3 separate regions of the Homo sapiens genome follow, and all the other regions are linked to region 3. The links are contacts of gene promoters, found by promoter capture Hi-C in human tissues and cell types (Jung and others, 2019). All regions are on one chromosome and are shown on one strand. The core of a region is centred on a gene start or on the middle of the fragment in contact, and the rest is flanking DNA. Distances in the headings are between cores, read along the strand shown. Region 1 overlaps UNC5D (unc-5 netrin receptor D). Region 2 overlaps UNC5D (unc-5 netrin receptor D). Region 3 holds the start of KCNU1 (potassium calcium-activated channel subfamily U member 1).

Evidence for each region. Contacts are between HindIII fragments. The study calls those that stand out against the background at their distance.
Region 1: a contact is called between a fragment that was not itself captured here and the fragment with the promoter of KCNU1 in region 3, in 1 of the 25 tissues and cell types used here (dorsolateral prefrontal cortex).
Region 2: a contact is called between a fragment that was not itself captured here and the fragment with the promoter of KCNU1 in region 3, in 1 of the 25 tissues and cell types used here (dorsolateral prefrontal cortex).

Annotation. Positions count from the first base shown.
Region 1 is chr8:35,442,128-35,446,725 of GRCh38, forward strand. All of the region lies in intron 1 of UNC5D (unc-5 netrin receptor D), which reads left to right. Among named protein-coding and RNA genes, the nearest start is that of UNC5D, 210 kb to the left of the region's middle. The HindIII fragment of the contact is 4,392 bases long and covers 1-4,048 here.
Region 2 is chr8:35,465,129-35,469,945 of GRCh38, forward strand. The region is part of intron 1 of UNC5D (unc-5 netrin receptor D); the gene reads left to right. Among named protein-coding and RNA genes, the nearest start is that of UNC5D, 230 kb to the left of the region's middle. The HindIII fragment of the contact is 3,194 bases long and covers 215-3,408 here.
Region 3 is chr8:36,782,113-36,786,866 of GRCh38, forward strand. It overlaps KCNU1 (potassium calcium-activated channel subfamily U member 1), which reads left to right and starts at 2,262. Exons shown (of 27, transcript NM_001031836.3): 1 at 2,262-2,493. The coding sequence starts at 2,299. The HindIII fragment of the contact is 3,588 bases long and covers 1-2,812 here.

The DNA of each region.
Region 1 (4,598 bases), core at 603-3,102, 1.3 Mb before region 3:
GCTATTCAAGGTTATTAGATTTTTTTAATTGGTGGTTTTTGTTGTTTTTTAATAGCAGGGACCTACAGTTATTGAAGGTAGGTGAGAGTTACATGTGTCTTCCTTCATAACCTTGCTGCCATTCACAAGTATATTTTGTACCAAATCCTACTACACATGAATATATTTATTGGAAGGAAAGTATGAAATTAGTTATACACCACACTAGGTAAACAGTGACATCCAGCATTCCCTTATTTAAGGGTTCTGCTCCCAGCATGTATGAAAGATTGATTGTGACAAACACAAGAGTTACTCTAGAGGCATGAGGTAAGAGTCTATACTAGATCTTACTTAGGAGGAATTACAGTAATGTAATTTATAATCAGCATTGGTAACCAGAATCTTCCGAAATAGTGGTTGGATTAGAGATTCTTTAAAAAACAAAGCTCAAGTCCCACCTCAAATGTCCGGTCTTTGTATAACTTGTTGATAGAATAGTTTGTTTAGTAGTTTGAATAATATTTCCAGCCAATCCAAGGAATTCAAGCACAACAAAATTCACCAATGAAAATCCATACGAAAAATCTGTTTTATGTTAATTAATAAAAGCTCTCTTCCCGAGCAGAGATAAGACAGCTGAAGTGTTTGTTGTAGCTATTATAATGCTTAGATTATATGAGAGCAAACCCAATTCAGACAAGTAATTACCTTGGGTTGGTTGTAAATTAAAACTCTATTTCTTACACCATCTCTCTCTCTCTCTCTCTCTCTCTGTTTCTCTCTCTCTCTCTCTCTCACACACACACACACACACACACACACACACAACACACACACACCACTGTGCTTAAGTATTTGACAGTAAATTACAGACATCAAAATACCATAATATAGGTGAGGACCATTAGGATCAGGTAGCTTCCTCTGGGTTTACAACCAGTAATTCAGAGAGGAGAGGAATGACCTCATGGCTTTGGACATATTCACATATTTTCTTTATACCATGTCAGGTATCCGAAGCTTATTCTATCTCAGGGTGCTAAAACCCAAGTAACCGTATTTAATGTACTAAGAACACTGTACTGTGCTTTACCAAGAAGGATATTCTGAGAACTTCTGTAAAATGTGTACCTACTGTGTGTGCTGTCTTGGGGCATACAGAGACTTCTCTGCTAGTGAGTCAGTTTGCTCTCTGTGGAAATGAGGAAGGATCTAGGGGAAGGGCATGGAGATCATTCTGTGGGAGTCACAGACTCCCACAGAATGCTGAATCAGGGGGCAGCCAGCATTCTTAGGCTGGAAAAAGTTGTGAAACAGTGAGAGGAGATGGGAATCTAAAGCACAGAGCTGGACCTTGAAAAGAAGAGGCATGTTATGGCATCATCTTCTGCTGCTTGGTCTAAGTGATGGTGGGTTTAGTTCTTTGGTGATCTGCAAAAGAAAGCTGACAGATCTCAATGGGAATCTGCGGAATATTTAGTTCTATTTCAGAAAGAGGGCACTGCATCATTTCTATTTCAGATCGTTGCCTGCCAATGGTAATAGCTTCACACTGGAAAGAATATTTTTTATTATTATGGTTAAATGTACAAGACTATTTTGTAAATGATCTTTCCCAACTCATTTTATTGAGGTCTGATCATTGTCATAAAGTAAATACTTAGGATATAATATAGAATTATATTTGCATATACAGTTCTCCATGGAAGTGTATCAAAAGGTTATATATATTAGCTGATCATCTTTTTTAATGAGAACAGAATCAGAAATTGTATGCTATTTGTAAATCCTCTTAAAAGATATAAGAAAGGGTCACTTTCTTCACTGCTTTTAATATAGAAATTTATGATATTTATTGTAAGTGTTTTTTCTCACTCATTCTTTAAACACATACTTTTGTTGAAAACATAAATTATTTGACAGATTATAACACAAGAATTTGATTTGGTAGTCTTTCTTATCTAATGTTAAAAGTATTTGGGGGAACCTTTTTTTCACCCATCTCTGAATGTTCGTCCTCCATACAGAAGGTGACTGAATTGGCAGTCATTACTGAAAGAAACATCAAATTTCCCATTCTCTATTCTGCCCCACTGAAGTGTGGATGTGTTACAGTACTTGGTTTCATACTCTTTAAACATTCTGCTAGCTCTTCTTACTGAACCGAGTGATAAGCTCTTTGGGAGGACTTGGCTAATTTCAGTTAGTAAGCACGTTCAATCTGAGATTACTCTAAACATTTAGAGAATGTTTATCTCCTGGAAAGTAATCAGCCTATTGCAGACTTCTTTTCTTTCTTTTTTCAGCCTTTATGGAAGGGCCTGATTAATTTTCTTTTTCCCTTTCAAGTAACACATAGAATGAGTATGTGTGTGTGTGTAAGTGTGCATGCATATGCATGATGGCATATACCATGCATATAGAAACACACACTTTCTCTCTCTCTCTCTTCCCAAATTCATTCATCTTCTGAAATCAAATTAGAAGAGAAAACACTCATGCCTTCATTAATCCTAGCCTTAGGAAGATCAATGGCAACAGAAATGAGAGACTATGTGGACCCAGGATGGAAATTTCTGGCCTGGTCCACTGTCCACCCTGAATTGAAGACTCTTTGACTCCTAGGTTTCTATTATTTCAACTACACTTATGCTTCCTCTGAAAACTATTAGAATTCCAAGATTCCATAGTAATACAAACCTCATAGGAATTATCCTTGTCAATAAAGGAGAATAACAAATTTTAGTTAGTAATTTTGATATTTTAAAAGGTGGAAGCCACAGATAGTATCATTTTTGCATTTTGACCAATTGTAATTGTTAACAAAACACCTTCTTCTGTTTACTTTCAAAGTGTCTCAGTTTAGATGATAAACTATAGCATCACCCTAGCTGTGGATCATGATGTTTCCCTCCTAGAGTCATATTTTTATTATTTAAATGTAGACAATCTTTCTTGACCAAGTGATGTGTACATCAGACCTTATCCATTATTCTGTTGGTATCAGAGTGTAGCCCCCAACTTCCTGCCTCCCTGTCTCTCATGCCAGCCCCCAGTACCTCCTGGGTTCAGGGTTCAGTATTTAACTGGCCTCTCCCTCCACTCTGTCCACTCCTAGTCATTCAGTAAACACATAATTCTTTTCAAGATTCTGAAAGACTTTGTGGCAAGCAACTACAAAGGAATTGAAAAGGAGTTAACAAAATAAAAACTATGAATAAGTTTCAAAATGTGGTAGAAATCTTTAAACCTGTTACTTGACATTTTTAGTGAAATATGAACAATGCTAGATTTTCATTCTCACTAAAATAATACATTTAACATTTACTATGTCATAAGTGTGCTTCTGAGTTCCCTGTAAATGTTAATTTATTTAAATTATGGAACAGTCTTAAGGGGTTGGTACTATTATGTGCCATTTTAATTTTTACTTGACAAATGAAGAAACTAAAGCTCAGAGGTTAATTAATTTACCCACTAAAAACAAGTGTTGAAGGTGAGCTTTAAACTTGATAATCTGGCCCAGAAGTCTATGATCCTATCTATAACCCAGTAGTCTAAAGTGTAGTCCCTCCAGTATGGGAACATCAACATCACCTGGGAACCTGTTGCATCAGAAACTCTTCGGGAGGAACCCATCAGCAAACTATAGGTGGTGCTCATTCATGTTTGAGAAATGCACAGCTTTCAATTCTTTTTGTGTTTAAAAAAGTGATTAATACATCTGTAGTATTTATTTATGAGTGATCAAAAGTTACTTTAGAAAATTTGGAAAAATATATAAAAGTTTAAAACTGAAAATTGAACTGGTGGCCATTATGATGATTATAATTTTATAATTTGCTTGTATTTGCTTAATGTATTGTGAAAACCTTTTTAGGCATTGACAATTTTTTCTTAAATTTTTTATTTCTATAGGTTTTTGGGGAACAGGTAGTATTTGGTTACCTGAGTAAGTTCTTCAGTGGTGATTTGTGAGATTTTGGTGCACCCATTACCTGAGCAGTATACACTGACCTCAATTTGTAGCCTTTTACTCCTCACCCCCTTCCCACACTTTCCCCCCGAGTCCTCAAAGGCATTGACAATTTAAAAATATTATTGTAAATGATTCCCTGCATTTCCAACATGCAGATGTTTTATTTGTATGTGGGATTTATTGGTTTTTTAATGTTGTTGAGATTTTGTTTAATTGCAACGTAACTCATATACCATATTACATTGTCTCTATGCCCAAAAGAATCTGCAACTGGAGATCAGAAGAAAATTCACTTACATTTTCTTGTAATTACTTTATGCATTTGATCTTTATGTTTAATTCTTTAACCTCCATAGCATTTGTTTTATTGTGATATAAGATGTAGATCTAATTTTTAAAAACTAAAAAAAAAGTAATTACCCAAGTGTAATTAACTAATTCATTCCTTGTCATTCTTTAAAAAAGCCTAGCAAAATAACTGGGTATGGTTTAGTAAATATTTGTTAAATAAATGAGTTTCATTAGACATCTCCAAATCTCAGAAATTCCCTGTTGTTTTAATGAAGGTTTCAGTTTCCTTACCCCCTTTTCTAATTTCGCAAATTCTGACGTGGAGCATCAGTTAATTGCCCTTGGG
Region 2 (4,817 bases), core at 562-3,061, 1.3 Mb before region 3:
GCCTGTAATCCTAACACTTTGGGAGGCAGAGCTGGGCAGATTGTTTGAGTCCTGGGGTTCCAGACCAGCATGGGCAACGTGGCAAAACACTGTCTATGCAAAAAGTACAAAAAATTAGCCAGTTGTGGTGGCATGCACCTGTAGTCCCAGCTACTTGGAAGGCTGAGGTGGGAAGACCACATGTGCCTGGCATGTCAAGGCACAGTGAGCCAAGATTATGCCCCTGCACTCCAGCCTGGGCAACAGAGCAAGACCCAACCTCAAAAGAATATTGTATGCTCAAAAGCCACATAAGTCTCAATCACAGTAAGCCAAGGCACAGTGAGCCCAGATTATGCCCCTGCACTCCAGCCTGGGCAACAGAGCAAGACCCAACCTCAAAAAAATATTGTATGCTCAAAAGCCACATAAGTCTCAATCCTTTTCTTTTCAGTTGTATCCCTCCTTATATCCTTTTCATGTGTCTTTGTTTCTTTATGTGAAACTCAATCTACTCATCATTCTCTTAATATTGTCTTCTTCCACTGTTATAAGCAGAATAATGGTCTCCCAGAGATATCCTAATCCCTGAAACCTGTGAATATGTTAGGTTAGATGGACTTGAAGTTGCTACTCAGCTGACCTTAAAATAGGAAGAGGATCTGGATTTCTCAGGTGGGCCCAGTGCAATCCCAGGGGTCCTTAAAAGTGAAAGAGGAAAGCAGAGGAGAGGAGTTAGAGGGGGATGTTATCGTAGAAGACAATGCAGAGAACTCCATCCACCATTGCTCATTTTGAAGGTGGAGGAAGGGACCATGAGCCAAGGTGTGTGGGCAGCTTCTAGAACCTGGAAAAGGCAAGGAAATAGGGTTATTTTCCTATAGTATCCAAAAAGGAACACAGGCTGCTGACAACTGATTTTGCCCAGTGATGCCTGTATTAGACTTTTAACCTTCAGAACTATAAGATGACGAATTTGTGTTGTAAGGCACCAAGCTTGTAGTAGATGATTTGTTACAGCAGCAGGATGAAACTGATACTCCTACCTTCATGCTTTTTCCTCATGCTGATCATAATGTTGGGAATAATCTTCCTCTTCACAAGGAGTTACCGAAGTCTAATAAAGATGTCAAGGTCCAGTACTAATATCACCTGCTCCAAGACTTCCCAGATTCTTACAGTCAGAATTCATCTCTCACTGTCTCTTGAACATAACTAAAACCTTATGTTCTGTATCAGCACTTTTTTTCTTATTAGATACCTGTGTATGCATGTGTGTGCCTAACCTTGGATTTGAGTGTCCAGGAAGTAGGATTTATATATAATTTGTCTTTGCATCCTTCTGCATTATCTAATTCATAAAACTTTACATTCAAGCCAGTGCTTTTTTAATCAGATTGTAAAAATGCAACACATTGGAAATGGTACTGAGCTTTAGAGTCCTAAATGCCCACAAGATGGTGTTATTTCCTTAAAAAAGTCATTTCTATTATCCCATGAGACTATTTCTCATGGACGCCATTCAAAAATGGAAATTCAATTTTTAGTTGAAAATGAGAAAAGTTTGGATTTCAACAGTCCTGTATTTGCCATCATAATTTACAGATTTTTTCATATTTTATGTAATGAGAATTTCATTGATCATATAAAAAGAGAGGTTGGTATTCACATATATTGAAATAAAAACAATCTCTGCCTCATAGGACTTTTCTAGACAGCACAACTGCATGCTCCCAAGTGCAGTATAGGCCAATGGTGGATTGTGTTTCTTTGAGCATGGTTGTATTACGTAGCATATTTTTGGAATTTCTTTCTGCAAGAAGTGAGGAGAAAATGGGAAAATTGTACCACTTGCTGCAACTTAATTTTACTTTTTCTTGGAATAAAAATGATTAAAGTCTAGGATGCTGTCTCCTAGAGACTCTTTGACAAGGGGTGAAATTCCAGGTCATGGAAATAACTATAAAATTAGTGGGTGAAAACATTTGTGATACCTTGTGACGCTTTCTCAGACAAGCAGGTTTTGAGTGTGTAAGTTCAGAAATTCGTACTCCCTCACAGTTTTTTCTTAAGACGAATTCCTTAAAACATGCCCATAACTCAAGTGCCAGTTGTCTTTGAGCACTGGATGGATAGTTTGTAATTTCTAATGTCCTTTCCTGAGAACCCAGCTGAGGTTACCTGTTCTTTCCTCAATGCTGAATTCATCATGGAACTGTGCTCTGGGAAGATGAGGAAGTGGGAAGTGTGTGGACACACCAAATTAGCTGGTTTCAAAGTGGGAGTGGATTGACAGCTTGAAAGCAGAAATTAAGCTATGAAGGCAGGGTAGAAGATAATTTAGATTCAGCTGCAGTACATGAGGTTTTTGGATTCATCCTCTTAGATATGCAGCATTAATGTTCAAACTAATCCAGAACCTTTATATTTGAAACCTTCCATGCCATAATGAAACTATGACAGGCAAAAAAAAAAAAAAAAAAAGAAGAAAAAATCAGACTTGTTTGAGTAACCTATCAATAACTGTCTCCAAATATTTAAAGAACTTTCAGATAGTGAAGGGAGAAGATGTGTTCTCATCCAGTATCTATTTTAGGGCAAAACTAGGACCTTTGGGCAGATGTTGGGGTAGGGTGGAGGGAATAGAACTCATTCAAGATTACCAAGCACTATCTTCCAACAAGAGCTGTGTAATCATGGAGTGTGTTTCTGATAACGAAAAGCTTTCGCCAAATGGCTAGATGATCACTTTTTAGTGGGAGATTGTTTGAGAAGTAGTATTAGATCACCAATGACCAATGTGATATTTTTTCCTACCAAATCTAAAATTCTGTGATCTTATCAAAAGGATATATAAACAATCCTTTTATGAATTCTTTAAGATTCTCTCAAAGAAATTGAGAAATGTGTCAACTTTTTCCGTAAGGATAACACAAAGTTTAAAATTATTAAAGCAGATATTTACCTGCTTTTACTATGAATTAGATAAATTTCTCAATGTCAAAACCAAGATGGCATTCAGAATGTAATAGTTGAAACTAACTTAGCCCGGTAATGTGTTGGTCGTTTAGGGATTGCCCTATATTAGAGTAATGAATAACTATTGAGAGCATGTGCACGTGAAGACACAGATAAACAGGGATAGGCAAGTACTTTTGACCACTCCCAAGGACAGAGATCACTAGCTCTCTTTTACCACTTTATAGGATTCTCTGTTTGCCTGCACTCTTTGAGAAAATCAAAATCATCCTTCACTTTGGGTAAAATAATGCATTGTTGTAAAAGTTCGATTTCAGTGCTGATTTTTCCTATAAAGGAGAAATTAGTTGTCAAATGTGGACATTCAGTTCCCAGCTATCTATTGTATGAGTTGAAATGAGTTGTCAAATTTGAATATTCAGTGCCTAGCTATCTCAAATATAGAAAGCCGTGATTTCCCTAAGTTGGTAGTGTTATTGTCTGTGTCCTCTGTCTCCTTGAGTTATTACATTCATGTTTAAACGTGGAGGACAGAATTCTCTATTTTTTAAAGTTATGTCACAACTTGGAATGGTTTCCAGCACTAACTACTTTATCACCTGGCCAGCTGCAGCAAATTGCTCTGGGACATTTAATCTTGAAAAGTGATTGCAGTCACATTTTGCCATCATTCCTGAATAGCAATACATGGTGTCATTGAAAACACCTCCTGGCAAAGAAGGTGTGATTTCCACGGGACAATGCTGATGACTTTTTAATTAAGATTCTTGTCTTCAGCCTGCTGCCTTACCAGGTGAGTTAGAAGAAAACTGAGGGTGTGGGAGTGCTTGGGAAACAAGAGAGCCCTTGCTAATTGGAGTTAGAAATAGGAGAAAAGTGGCCAGCAAAGCCTCTGCAGAGAGAAAATAAATATTCGTGCCATGTGGAGGTGGGAGTTGGAGAGGGTGGTAGCTGATATGAAATAATCTATTATTGCACCTTCCTCACTAACAGGACTCTTGTGATATAACAGGAGGCATCAACCTATTCTCATCAAAGAGAATGCAAGTTTTATGAACGGCATTCATTTATCAGACCTGTGTAGGTAAAAACTTCTCCTTATCAGGAGGAAGTATACTTATTAGTTAATACTCGAAGTCAAATACATAGATTTAAGCTTAGACAGCCCATTTATGTTCTATGAGTCTCATTTCCTTCATTTTAAAGTGGGGGTAATAATTTGCCTAATAGCATTGCCTTGCCAAGTTAAAGTAAATGGAATAATGCATGAAAGCTCTTAGCCTAGTATTCTTCATATGGGGAGTAATCAGTAAATAGAAGTAAATAGTATCTTCAGATCCAAAGCTAAAGAGCCCATAGATTACCAAAAACATTGTCATCATTTACTGGGACAGCCCATATTGAGTGTCTATGTTTGTGGGGAAAGGGACCGTATAGCCTTGATTTAATAACTTTCTTTGCTTTGGAATACTCACTTAATATACTCTCTGTGCTTTAATTTATTTACCTTTCCAGAGCACGATAATACCAACTGCTCAATTACTTTGCAGAGAAGTAAAAAAGGTAGAGATTATAAATCTATGTAATATTTCCATTTGACTAAAGAAGGGCATTTAAGGAAAACTACAACACATTTCCCCAGAAAGACCTGAATGACGAATATGAGGTTTTCAGCTCAAAATCAGGTCTCATGACTTCATTATTGGATTTGCACCTAACATAGATCATAATTTTTGTATCTTATGAGAGGAACAAATATCAAAATATGATACAGCTTTAGGTATATGTTAGAGGCCCTTTCTTGGTTGTACGGGAATGAAGGAAAGGACACTGGAACTTCTTGCCCTTCTTCAATGTAT
Region 3 (4,754 bases), core at 1,012-3,511:
ATAAAAGGGAGAATACTAAGTAAAGGATGTGGATGAATTTTGGCTTGGAAAGTCTGATCTTGTCCACATAGCTGTAAGTGTGTGTGTGTGTGTGTGTGCGCGCGTGTGTGTGTGTGTGCGTGCGCACACACACATATGTGAAAGAGATAAACAAGTGATTTCTCCCTCCCTCCTTCCCTTCCTTCCTTCCTCCCTCCCTTCCCTCATTCCTTCCTCCCTCCCTCCCTCCGTTCATTCCTTCCTTCCTTCCTTCCTCCCTCCCTACCTCCCTCCCTACCTCCCTCCCTGCCTCCCTCCTTCCTTCTTTCTCTCCCTCCTTTCCTTTACTTCTTCCTCCTCCTGTCTTTATAATTAATGCCATTCAAAAAAGGAACTGAAATGGCTAATGGCATCTTATATTGAGTTTTATGCTTTTCAAAATATGTTCACACTACCTTCTTGAATCCCCACAATAATTCTATCAAGTAGGTATTATCTTCCACATAAAATCAAAAGACTACGAACATTAAAATGACTTGTTAGAAATCACACAGTAACTTAATAGAAGGACTGGGCTGGAACGCAGGGCTCCTAACTCCTAGACCAGTGTTCTTTTAAACATCGCCCTTTGTTATTAGCTAGCTCAATGACAGGATTTTGTAGAAATGATAGGTAAGCTTAAAAGCAGGAAATGTAACTGTGGCAGCAGTCCTAGGAAATGCTACAGTTATCTTCTGAAACAGCCTGCCAAACAGTGTGGAGTCATGGCGGGCTCCCAAGGACAGCGTGATGATTCCTCTTGGGCCTCTTCACCTGGTGTCAGGTTATCTTGGTAATAACTGGGGTGAACTAGGCCCTCCACTGGGCTCTGACATTTTGCCTGCCACTTGTGCACACTGAAAGGCATGACATTTCTTACACCTTTGAAAACATCAGGGAAAATCAAAGAAATTTCTCTCATTCTGAACTTTACCTCTGCTGGGCCAAAAGGTTTGCTGCCAGGGCAGTAATAAAAGCAAGAAAGGGGAGAGTTCCATAAAGAAGAGATAAGTGGAATGGATTTATGGGCTGAAATAACAATCAACCAATGACCACACTAGTTAAATTGTCTTCTTCAATACCTGCACTCTATACTATGCCTTTCTTATGTAAAGAATAAACAAAACCTTTTTTTTTCTGTTTCAAGATAATCTTGATTTTCATTGTGTGTAATTAAGGAGTACAACGTGATATTCTTTGGATTGATGCACAGCAGATACACATATTTTCAAGTCACGTGATAATTTAATACATTCACATAATTTGTGTACTTGGGATATCAATCAACTTACATATTTGTATTTTCTTTGTGCTAGAAACATTCAAATTTTTCTCTTCTAGCTATTTTTAAATGTACAATAGATTATCATAAGCTATAGTCACTTCACTGATCTATAGAACATTAGATGTTATTTCTTCTATCAAACCAAATATTTGTACCCATTAATCAACTTCTCTTTATCCAACTTCTTTCCTCAGCCACCCTTCCCGGCATCTCGTAACCATGAATCTACTCTCTATCTTTATGAGATCCACTGTTTTAGCTTCCGCATACAAGTACAAACGCAAAATGCTCTTTTGATAAACTTATGCATAGTGAAGCAGTGACTACAGTCAAGCAAATTCATATATCTATCATCTCACAGAGTTAATCATCTTTTGTGTGCGTGTAACAAGAGCCCTTAAAATCTACTCTTTTAGCAAAAATCCTGAATACAAATAATTTTATTAATTATGTTCTTTGTTCTGCACACTAGATCTTCTAGACTTATTCATTCTGCATATCTGCTCCTTTGTATAAAGGATAAACAAAAACTTTAAAGTACTTCTCTCTTCTGTCCTTCCAAGCCTACTAAGCACGTGGCATCCTCCCAGATAGAGAACCAACTCATTCACACACATAGTTGGCTGTTGTTTCACTCCGAAAGAGTTGATTTGAAATTATTTGACTGCATTAACTGAACTGATAACCAGCTGATCATTGCTACAGATAATGGGATTTCTTCAAGGCATAGAGAAAGTCGTAACAATCCGATCTAGAATTATGATTTTTTTGACTATTCATATTGTAGGCCCCAGCCATCTCCAGTTGTGTATTCATTCACAACCCATGAGCTGGCACCGGGGGATTGGCAGACCCTTGTTCCTGGAACTTCTCACTGGTTATCACGCCTAATGTTGGAACACTGTGGTACAGTGAACTCTGATTCCTGGAATTGTTACCAGGCGACCACGGCGTCATCAAATGACCTGGCAATTCCGTCTACTGATGTCTCGAACATGTTTCAGACTAAGCTACGAAATGAAACTTGGGAAGACTTGCCAAAAATGTCCTGCACAACTGAGATCCAAGCAGCATTCATTCTCTCTTCCTTTGTGACCTTCTTCAGTGGACTCATCATCCTGTTGATCTTCAGGCTGATCTGGAGATCTGTTAAAAAATGGCAAATCATCAAGGGAACAGGAATTATCTTGGTCAGTTTCCTTGTTAGGGATCCCTCTGTGTGAAGTCAGAGATGAGTTTGGGGTAGTTTTGTGTTTAGTAAAAGATCTAAGCTTCATTCAGTTTTTCAAGCTAACAGAGTCAGCTTCTATAGCCTGGTGCCTCAGAAAGGGTGGTAAGCCAGACCTCAGGCCACATTCTGAGGCCTGAAGAGACAGGGCCAAGCCTCTTCTCTCTCCCATCACTGGAAAAAGCAATGTCTTGTATGGATAATGATTAATGTTAGCTCTGGAAACAGAGGTCACTGTTCTGAAAAAAAGTTCATAAACATTATGTCCATGCCTCTATCTCGAATTTTAACAAGACAATTGTGCTAGGTCATAGAAAGGAGGTGAAAGGGAACAAGACATCAACATCAACCTTGCTTTCATAAATTGTTCATGCATAATGCATATGTACTGACGTGTACATTGCCTTTTGTATACCATATGAAGACAACACATTGAGTTGCACATACACAGAGAAGCCCATGCATACATGCCTGTGCCATCCAGGCATAGATGCAAGGACATTTCTTATACCCAAACAAGCTTAGCAGGAGTTGATGTTGTTGAATAACAGCTGGCAAATGATGATGATGAGAATAAATGATGTATTATACAGATAAGGCATTGCTTAAGAGCTTGAAATAAAGCTCTCAAATGCTGTGTAATGGATGTTCTATTACCAGAGGTCAAAGGTGAAGAGTTTTACTATACCCTGTGTAGTTTGTTTCCAATTTTGCTTCCCAAACTTTCTTTCTCTGATAGATTATAGCAATTTCCATAACACAACACATTTCACCTGTGCATCATAATATTGAAAATTTGCTTAAAACATTTCTTTTAGTGCTAAAACCTACATAAAATATAATTCATAAATTGATAAGTTTTTAAAGTTATTGGTAATATGGAATTTTGTTTTCCATATTTGAAAATTATCCAATACTGAAGCTTATAGATTTTGTTCCTAAACAAGTTTATTCTATTGATTATTTCTACATTATGGATTTTAAGCTGTGGCACAATAATTGGAGAAAGAATTCTGGGATACTGACATATGGGTAAATAGCTATGATGGATCTGCCTCCTTGTTTCTACCTTGTTTTGTTGTTGTTAATGCACAACTGAATTTGTAGGATTTTTAAATCTTCTTAGTCTTCTGCTCCAGGCAATGTTCTTCTTCTCCATTATGTTCATTTTGTGTGATTACAAAAATGTGACAGTACATTTGTCAATTTCCTATATTTTTCATTTCTTACTTTGGGTGTAATTTATGTCTACACTTCGATCCAGGTATACCCTTTAATTACAAATATTTAGCAAATGTTACAAAATGTTAAGAAGTGAGCCTGAGCAACCAGAATGCTGTACCATTCTGCTTTTGAATCTTGAGGAAAGAGTTTGATCAAGTTGAGTTACTTTTCAATGATTTGTTTTATTACATCAAATTAAGAGTGACCTGTTTTTCTCTAAGCCTTTGGAGAAGTTGGACAAATGCAAAAAAAAAAAAAAATCAGAAATCTAGGTGTACTGTGAAGAGTTATTTTAAAAATTATTTGGAGAGTTACAATTTCTCTCCTTAAATGTGCATTTAAAACATGTATTACATCTATAAATATGAGTTTATTATATCTTAGGACCAATTTGTTTTTCCACAGAAGGTAGCTCCAATTTTATGATGGAATTCAAATGAGTATTCTATATTAATGTCATACCTAGGATTTTTTAAAATTAATTCTCAGACAACATTTAGAAACCGACATGAGTCATGTTTATTAGAGGGCAAATCATTGATCAGGATGTGAACTTTTATCAAAGAGTTTTTTAATGAGACTTCCCTTTTTATCATTCAGAAAATATGAGTAGAAAAATTAAGTGATTTTGAAATCCTGGCTTCATATAAAATGAGCTTTTTTGAAAGTCAGAGGGACTCATCTAGCTTGGTGTGGGTAGTCCTAGTTGGTTTGTGTATTTCTTTGTGGTGGTTCTAGACTATTATCAACAAACAATGAATGCCAGCTCAGGCCCCAGCCTTTCCTCATTGCCTGATATTAGGAAAGTCATTTAATTTCTCTATACCTTGGTATCCACATCAATATAAAATGTATTTAGTCATGCCTAACTTTATCATATGAGATTACCGTAACATTTAAATATAATAAGTAAAGACATTCTATAAATGTGAGGAAGGATTATAATTTCAGAATATAACACCAGGCAAAAAACTAAGAGCAACACAAAATTGCTGAAAA